Regions from separate parts of the Homo sapiens genome. Here region 1 is linked to region 2. The links are contacts of gene promoters, found by promoter capture Hi-C in human tissues and cell types (Jung and others, 2019). All regions are on one chromosome and are shown on one strand. The core of a region is centred on a gene start or on the middle of the fragment in contact, and the rest is flanking DNA. Distances in the headings are between cores, read along the strand shown.

Region 1 (4,433 bases), core at 903-3,402, 220 kb after region 2:
GTGAGCTGAGATCGCACCACTGCACTCCAGCCTGGGCGACAGAGTGAGACTCAGTCTCAAAAAAAAAAAAAAATGGTTAAGATGGTAATTTTATGTTATGTTTTTTAACATAATTTAAAATTGAAAAATCAAAAAATATTTGTAAAATAATGTAGAACAATGCCACTCTCCTCAATAATTTTTTTTGTTTTGAAAAATTATTTTTTGTACATATGTACATAATGAGATATTACTGTTATCTTAATTCCTGCTTTTTTTTCTTTTTTTGAGACTTACTCTGTCACCCAGGCTGGAGTGCAGTGTCGTGATCTCGGCTCACTGCAACCTCCGCCTCCCAGGTTCAAGTGATTCTCCTGCCTCAGCCTCCTGAGTAGCTGGGATTACAGGCATGTGCCACCATGCCCGGCTAATTTTTGTATTCTTCTTTTTTTTTTTTGAGATGGAGTTTTGCTCTTGTTGCCCAGCCTGGAGTGCCATGGTGAGATCTTGGCTCACCGCAACCTCCACCTCCCGGCTTCAAGCGATTCTCCTGCCTCAGCCTCCCAAGTAGCTGGGATTACAGGCGCCTGCCACCATGCCTGGGTAATTTTTGTATTTTTAGTAGAGACGGGGGTTTCTCCATGTTGGCCAGGCTGGTCTGGAACTCCCGACCTCAAGTGATCCACCCGCCTTGGCCTCCCAAAGTGCTGGGATTACAGGTTTGAACCACCGCGCCTGGCCTTAATTACTACTTTTAAAATGTCTGTTTGCCTTTCTAATATGGTAAATACCAGTAGCTATCATTCACCCACATCAACAAAGCTTCTTTGGGTGTCCTCAATAATTTCTAACAGTGTAAAGAGATCCTGAGATCAAAATGGTTGAGAACTGCTGCTTTCATGCGAAGGAATACAAGGTTGGGTGCAGCGACTCACGCCTGTAATCCCAGCACTCTGGGAGGATGAGGCGGGTGGATCACTTGAGGCCAGGAGTTCAAGACCACCCTGGGCTATATGGCGAAACCCCATCTCTACTAAAAATGCAAAAATTAGCTGAGCATGGTGGTATGTGCCTGTAATCCCAGCTATCTGGGAGGCTGAGGTGGGAGGATCCCTTGAGCCTAGGAGGTTGAGGCTGCAGTGAGTTGAGATCACACCACTGCTCTCTAGCCTGGGTGACACAGTAAGACTGTCTCCAAACAAAAAGAGAAGGAATACAGCAGGCAGGGGGTTGCCAGATAAAAGAAAGGATGTCCAGTTACATTTGAATTTCCGATAAACAATGAATTTTTTTTTAGTATAATATTACACAGGACATGCTTAACTAAAAAGTTATTCATTTTTTTTTTTGTTTTTTTTTTTTTTGAGACGGAGTCTTGCTCTTTTGCCCAGGCTGGAGTACAGTGGTACAGTCTCGGCTCACTACAACCTCCGTCTCCTGGGTTCAAGCAATTCTCCTGCCTCAGCCTACTGAGTAGCTGGGATTACAGGCGCACGCCACCACACGCGGCTAATTTTTGTATTTTTAGTAGAGATAGGGTTTCACCATGTTGATCAGGCTGGTCTCGAACTCCTGACCTCATGATCCGCCCACCTCAGCCTCCCAAAGTGCTGGGATTACAGGCATAAGCCACTGCCCCTGGCCTTCTATTCATTGTTTATCTGAAATTCAAATTTAAATGGGTGTTCTGTGTTCTGTATTTTTACTTGCAAAATATGGCAACCCTAATAGCAGGAGAGATTTGGGTTAGTCAACAGGATGAACTTGGATCAGATATTGGGATTCTGACCCAGGGAAGGATGGAGAATCCCCTATTCTGGACAGCTTTAAAAAAGGAGAATGTGGGCCAAGTGTGGTGGCTCATGCCTGTAATCCCAGCACTTTGGGAGGCCAAGGCAGGCGGATCACCTGAGGTCAGGAGTTCAAGACCAGCCTGACCAACATGGAGAAACCCCGTCTCTACTAAAAATACAAAATTAGCCGGGTGTCGTGGTGTATGCCTGTAATCCCAGCTACTTGGGAGGCTGAGGTAGGAGAATCGCTTGAACCCAGAGGGCGGAGGTTGCGGTGAGCTGAGATCACACCATTGCACTCCAGCGTGGGCAACAAGAGCAAAACTCTGTCTGGAAAAAAAAAAAAAAGAAAAAAAAGGAGAATGTGGCCAGGTGCGGTGGCTCACACCTATAATCCCAGCACTTTGGGAGGCTGAGGTCAGGAGTTCAAGACCAGCCTGGCCAACATGGAGAAATACTGCCTCTACTAAAAATACAAAAATTAGCCAGGTATGGTGGCACATGCCTGTAATCCCAGCTACTCAGGAAGCTGAGACAGGAGAATCACTTGAAGCTGGGAGGCAGAGGTTGCAGCGAGCCAAGATCGTGCCACTGCACTGCACTCCAGCCTGGGCAGCAGAGTGAGACTCTACCTCAAAAAAAAAAACAAAAAAAAAAAGCAAAAAAAAAGAAAGGTGAATGTGTCTGAGGACTGAAGGGCAAGCCTCTAAATGCTTAGGGGTAGAGTTTATAGTCAGAGGGACCTTCCTGCAGCTGGGCCAGAGACTCACCCACCCTCTAGAAACCTCAGCAGCTGAGGATGAACAAAACCCACAGGAAGTGGTGGAAGTGAAACTTGGTGTCAGTGTTGTTGTTATTAAAAGGGGGAAGTGACACCGGGTGAGTGAAGGGTGGGTGGAGGTGAAGTCTCTATAGGCAGCGAGGTCATTCGGCAGCGCCCCCCTTCCTGCTCTGCTAAGAATAGTTACGGTTGTGATAGGGGTGTGGTTTGTCTGAGGCTGGGGGAATGAATCTCGCTTGATGTCTGGATGGGGCAGAGCAGAAGTAGCACTGGGGTGGTCAGAGCTTCAAGTCAGGTGGCAGCAAAACCTAAGAAGCATTTTTGGGTTTGGAAATAAACAAATAAGTGGCCTCAGAAGCAGCTCAGAGGAGAAGGATCCTGCCTTCCAGCTAAGAGAACTATAAGAGGGAAGCAGGGCCCATGACCATGACAGTCCCTCCTCTAGTCAGCTTGGGAAGCTCTGAGAAGCTCTTTCCATTAAGAGAGTCAGGGATGCTCCAGAAATCAGGCTGGCAGGGAGGCTGCAGTGCGTTTTTGTCTCTAGCACTTACTGAGCACTTACTGTGTGCTTGACATTGTGCCAGGCCCTGAGGCTCCAGAATTAAATACAGTGTGGTTCCTGCGCTCCAGAGGTTGGAAGTCCAGTGGAAGAGATATGCATCAAACTAATATAAATTCATGAATTCATTGTGATCAGAGGTAATAGTTGAAAGCCCAAGCAGCAGCCTACCTACTGTGAGCCTGAGCCCACCCCTCAGCAACTCCCCAGCCCTGGCCCAGGCTGCAAACCAACAGAGGCCGGAGTCACCCAGCTGCCTGCAGAGCAGTGCATCAAGTCAGGACCCTTTCTCTGCCCAGACGTCTTTGCCAACTGTTTGGAACAAAGGGAAATCATCTGGTTTGGGGAAAGACATAAGAATGACCGTTTTCTTTCCTAAACCTTCACCCTCTCCCATTTCGGCCTGAGAAAAGCTGTTAGATGCTTCTTCAGAGGGTTTCTAAGGGCCACAATTGCCTTCCACCTAAGAGGGAACAGGGTGGGGAGGGGTGGCAATGGCCTTCTTTGACCGCAGAGGTTTTGGATTTAGCCTGAAGTCACAGAACAACTGAAGCCAAGAGACAGTTCACCCTTTCTGGTGTCTAGAGCTTATTGAACAAATGTCCATTGACCCCCTATTGCTAGGGGCAGGGGTGAAATATTGAGTTGAGTCCAGGGCTCCAGCCTACTAGAGGCACAGTCTGTAGAGAAGTCAGATAATGACCAGGCGGTGCCTAAGCTGGATCTGAATCCAGGGCCTTTAGTCATCAGACACTGGACAGATTCTTCGTGGAGGGAGTTGGGCCTTGAAGGCTGAAGAGTTTTCTGGGTCAAGTACATGTTTAGGGAGCAAGAATTCCTTGGAAACTTAAAAACTGGTCTCCCATGGTCAAGTCTGGCTCCTGTATGTGAACATCATACACACAGAACATGGCTCTGTATCCTGACTCCTATGCACCCCCGGCCACATTGTATACTCCTGCTTGTATGCTCCTGGCCAGTGAGGTGTCTGCAGTCTTGGGACAAGTGGTGGCCAGGGAGTCTTTGTCCCCTGGGTTCCTGGGGTTCAGGCTTCAGGTCTGGTTTCTGCCGTTGCCCCTCCTCTGGTTCCCTCCTTCTCACAAGACACAGCCTGACAACCTGGCCTTCTCTCTGCCTTCGTTAGGAGGGAGGCTGCTCAAACCACAGCTCACCACAGCTCACCACAGCTCACCACAGAGGCCAAGCTGGGTGTGCCTCTGTGGAGCAGCGGCAGGAGCCGGCTGAACACAGCCAGGACCAGTTTCCCCAGGGGCCAAATGCAACCTGTTCTCCATTGCATCTTCCCCACTGGTGGGCAAAT
Region 2 (4,124 bases), core at 1,501-4,000:
ACCTCGTGATCCGTCCACCTCGGCCTCCCAAAGTGCTGGGATTACAGGCGTGAGCCACCGCACCCAGCCTAAATCTTATAACAGCCCTCTATTATGATCCTCATTTTACAGATGAGGGAACGGATGCTGGGAGAAATTCACGAGTGTGCTAGTGAGGGGAAGGTCACATAGCTACTATATGCTGGAGCTGGATTCCACCAAGGCCAGAAGTTTGCCCTCCCCTTTAGTTCTCAAGCTCAGTTAGAGAAGAACAGAAGGAATCAGAGGACAGGTAGATGGAGATGCTGGACAAAAGTCCCAACAGGGTGATCCCAGAAAGTAGAGGCTTGGTTAGGGTAGGAACCGGGAAGAGTCAAGCCGGGCTCTGCCCTACAGTGTAGGACGCATTCCCGAGTGCGGGACGGCCCAAGTAGGCAGAGGACAGAGTCCGAGTCTGTAGAGGAAGCAAATGCACCCTGAAAGGCAGCTCCATGTCCTCTAGACCTGAGCGGGGGTTTGCAGGGCTGGCAACCTGATCCCACGAGATCTCAGACCAAGAACCTATTTGCTCCTCAGATCTGGTGCCCTCTCTCCTGTGCCCCATGGAGAAGCCTGGCTCTGCCTAGTGCAGGACAGACAGATGGGAGCCTCAATATTTGGAGCATCACCCCCATTCTTTCTTCTCCTGAGGACTGACGCAGACCAGAGAACTCCAGAGTGGGCCGGAACCTCCCCACAATGGGGCAGGGGTTAACAGCAGGGGCTTGGGGTCAGACGGAAGTGGGCTGGATCCCACCTCTGTGTGACCTTGGAAAAGTTGGTCTCTCAGAGACTCAGTTTCTTCACCTGTAAAATGGGGATGATAATAATACCTACTTCATAAAGTTGTGACGCACTGCTTGGCGCACAGTAGATATTCAACAAATGGTGGCCACTAAGGCTTGTCTACTCTGCCTCTGGCACCCCCGATAAGTTTGGGAAGAACTTCTTCTGGCACGCGTGGAGAGCTTCTTCCATTCTCCTGGCAGGGTATGGGGAGAGTCCTGGGGACCCAGTGGGGAGAGTCCTGGGAACCCAATGGTCAGGTACACCCCAGATTAAGGGTGGGGGAGGGGTCAGCCCCACAGCCTCCTCAGCTGCACAAGAGGTGGCTGGGAAAGGGTAACCCGAGATAGCAGCTTTGCTGTGGCAAGGTGACCCTCTCTCTGGAACGCCTTCAGGATGCAAACCCGGACCTGGAGCCAGTGTCGCCCTGTACTCCACCGACCCTCAGCACCCTCAGCACCGTTTTCCCAGGCCCCTCCCAAGGCCAGGCTAAAGGCAGGGGATCTCTGAGGACGTGCCAGTCCACCAGGCGCTCCAGGCATCCTCTCAGGCCCGTGTCCAGGAATGTGCTGCATGCCCATGCCCGGGTGGGGAATGCCACGCGAACATGCCGAAGCTCACTGGGTGCTGACACAGGAGGGGCAAGCCGGTGGTGTTAGTGAGTCACAGGGCCCAGGCTACAGCTGGGGAACTGCCGAGGGCTGGGCTAGGGGTGGGGAAGAAGGGGAGACAGTAGCAGATAGCGCGGAAGAGGTTCCAGGGCCTCTCACTCCCACAGTGTCAATCCTCCCACCCCGACTGCCGGGAGGTGCCCAGAGAGAATGAAGAGAGGCAGGGCTGGTGCCTAGGAGGGTGCTGACCCTGCAGCACAGAAAACCCCTCACTGTTTCTGCAGCCCAACTCCCACCCAGCACAAGGTCTGCAGACACCTTCAGGGAATCCCCGCCCCCCACAGGGCGAAAACAGAGGCCTCCAGTCCAGACCCGATTTTGGATTTCAGATTCCTGATGGTGTCCCTCAACTACAGCAGAATCCTCAAGGCACATCTCCTTAGCCCAACAGGTCACCGCCCACTCCCCCCGGCCCCACCCAGCCTCCTTTCCCTCTGCTGCATTAACCCTCTGTCGCCTGTTGATGAGGGGTGGAGGGGGGCACTGCCCCTTTGGTCTTCCGGGGTGGAAAGAGAGAAGCAGCAGCATTCCCCAGACCCCTGCCTCCCCCAGAACTGGGACCTGCAGGGCTTCACGTGTCCTTCCACGTTCTTCCCAGGGCTCCGGCCTCCCACCCCCTGCCTGCCGCTCTGGAAAGTTCACCAGAGCCCAGGAAGCCCTTCAAGGCAGCGATGTGGCCCCACACTCTCGGGTCCTTTGGTCCCTGGAGACTCCTGACCCTTGCCCTTCCCAGAATGAAGGGAGCTTAGAAAGCGCCTGGTTCCGGACTGGGTGGAAAACTTTGCTTTGTAGGGTTCAGACGGGAGCCCAGGGGCCAAAGTGATCCCAGATGGAGACTCCCTAAGGGGGCGCGGGGTCTGAGATTGCAAAATAACCCTCCCTCTCAAGCACCTGGAACTTACGAGTGGCCTTTCGAGGGCACCCCCCACCCCTCAACACACAACACAGTATCACACAGATCACGCCTCGTGATCTCTGCTCTCCCCTCGCCGCTCCGGTATTTCCCTCCAACCTCTCGCCTCAGGGCAAAAGCAAAACTGCGCCTTTAAGAGCCGTTCCGCTTACCTTTGCTCCTTATACCCGGCGCCGCGGTGCCCGCTCCTCCGACCTCCCCCTTCCTCCCAGGCGCACCGCCCGCGGGACTCACAGCGCGTGTCCTGGGGGCCGCGGTGCGCCCGCTCCCTCCCGGGCACGGGGCAGCTTCCCCTGCTCCGGAAAGGTGAGCAGTTCCCCAGAGAAGCTGCAACCTGAGCTGGCCGAGGAGGAGGTAGAAGGGGAGGGGAAGGGAGGGAGTGGAGGAAGGTGGGGAAGAGGAGGGAGGAGGAGGAGGAGGAGGAGGAGGAAGGAAAATGCCCGGCCCCCGCCAGAGTTTTTCACATGTACAAGTTGACTCCGCCCCCGGCCCTCCCGCCCTGCCCACAGCCGCTACCAATCCCCAGGGCTCCCTCTGCCCGGGTGCCCACCCCTTTCTCCCACTCTGGGAACCAGGGTCCAAGTGCCTCTTCCTGTTTCGTTTCTAAAACCGGCCCTGAGAGCCTTGGCTAGGGGATGAGGCCTTCTGGACTGGATCACCCCAGGACACCAAGGCGCCAGGGGTACACTGAGAGTGCCTGCCTGTCTCTAAAAGCGGTGCTCCTACCTCTCCTAGGTACCTCCCTGTACCTGGCGCCCTAGGAACGAATGTGCATGGACAGATTTTGGTGGTCATTTTCTTGACAATAGTAGCCCTCGGGCTCCCCTTCTACCCTATCCAGTGGGACTTGTCACTTACCTTTCCGGACAAAGTTCCCACCTCTCCAGGACCTGAATGAAGCCCTTGTTACCAGCCATCATTCACATTTCCCTCCCCGAAGGATAATTCAACTTGTCCTTTTGGAATTAAACTCCACAGGATATTTGAGAATCATCCAAGAAGGGTTACAGAATGGCTAGTTCAGCTAGTGGCACTCTCATTTTACAGAAGGGGAAACTGAGGCCCAGCAAAGCAATTGAACTGGCCTAAAGTGCCACAAGAGTTCATGGCGAGCCATGATTAGAACTCAGGCCAATGGCCATTGCACCCACATCATCTGACTTCAAGGATCAAAAAAAAAAACAAAACAAAAATCTGGGGATGGGGGTGAAGGGCACAGTGCCCCACCGCCAGGCCCCTCTCATCTCTGCTTCCTCCTGAGGGCTGTGAGGAGAGGAGGTGTGCCTTGGCTCTATGGCACCTCATCAAGGCAGTCTGTGTCCCCTGCCCTACCAGAGGGCTTGGCTGCTGCAGTCTGGGGTCTCCCACAGGGAAAGTCTCCTTAGGAGGGGGTGCTCCACAGTGTACATGTGCTTCTACCTGAACCCTTTCCCTGGGGACTGTGAGTTGTTGAGAATAGAACAGTTTCCTTCTGGAAGACATGGGCCTGAGGTCCCACTGTCAGCTGGAGACAGGAGAATGAAGGAAGACACTGGGCCCATGCATGAAAGTGACCTGTGGGTAGTTGACATCTCACAGAGGGCCTCCCAACTCTTTTTTTTTTTTTTACCTCGCTTTCTCTGCCAAGGCATGCAGATTTCCTGGGCACAGCACTTCCTAAAAATGAAACTGCCAAGTGTTGTCGGGGTGCATGGATCCAGAGCCTTTAGGTGTGCAGCAACCTCCTGGCTCTGTAG

What was found. Contacts are between HindIII fragments. The study calls those that stand out against the background at their distance.
Region 1: a contact is called between a fragment that was not itself captured here and the fragment with the promoter of CDK18 in region 2, in 1 of the 25 tissues and cell types used here (hippocampus).

What each region holds. Positions count from the first base shown.
Region 1 is chr1:205,286,611-205,291,043 of GRCh38, reverse strand. No RefSeq gene overlaps it. Among named protein-coding and RNA genes, the nearest start is that of NUAK2, 33 kb to the left of the region's middle. The HindIII fragment of the contact is 8,183 bases long and covers 1-4,433 here.
Region 2 is chr1:205,503,295-205,507,418 of GRCh38, reverse strand. CDK18 (cyclin dependent kinase 18) reads right to left here and starts at 2,750. Exons shown (of 16, transcript NM_212502.3): 1 at 2,623-2,750. RefSeq lists an enhancer at 173-826. The HindIII fragment of the contact is 16,948 bases long and covers 1-4,124 here.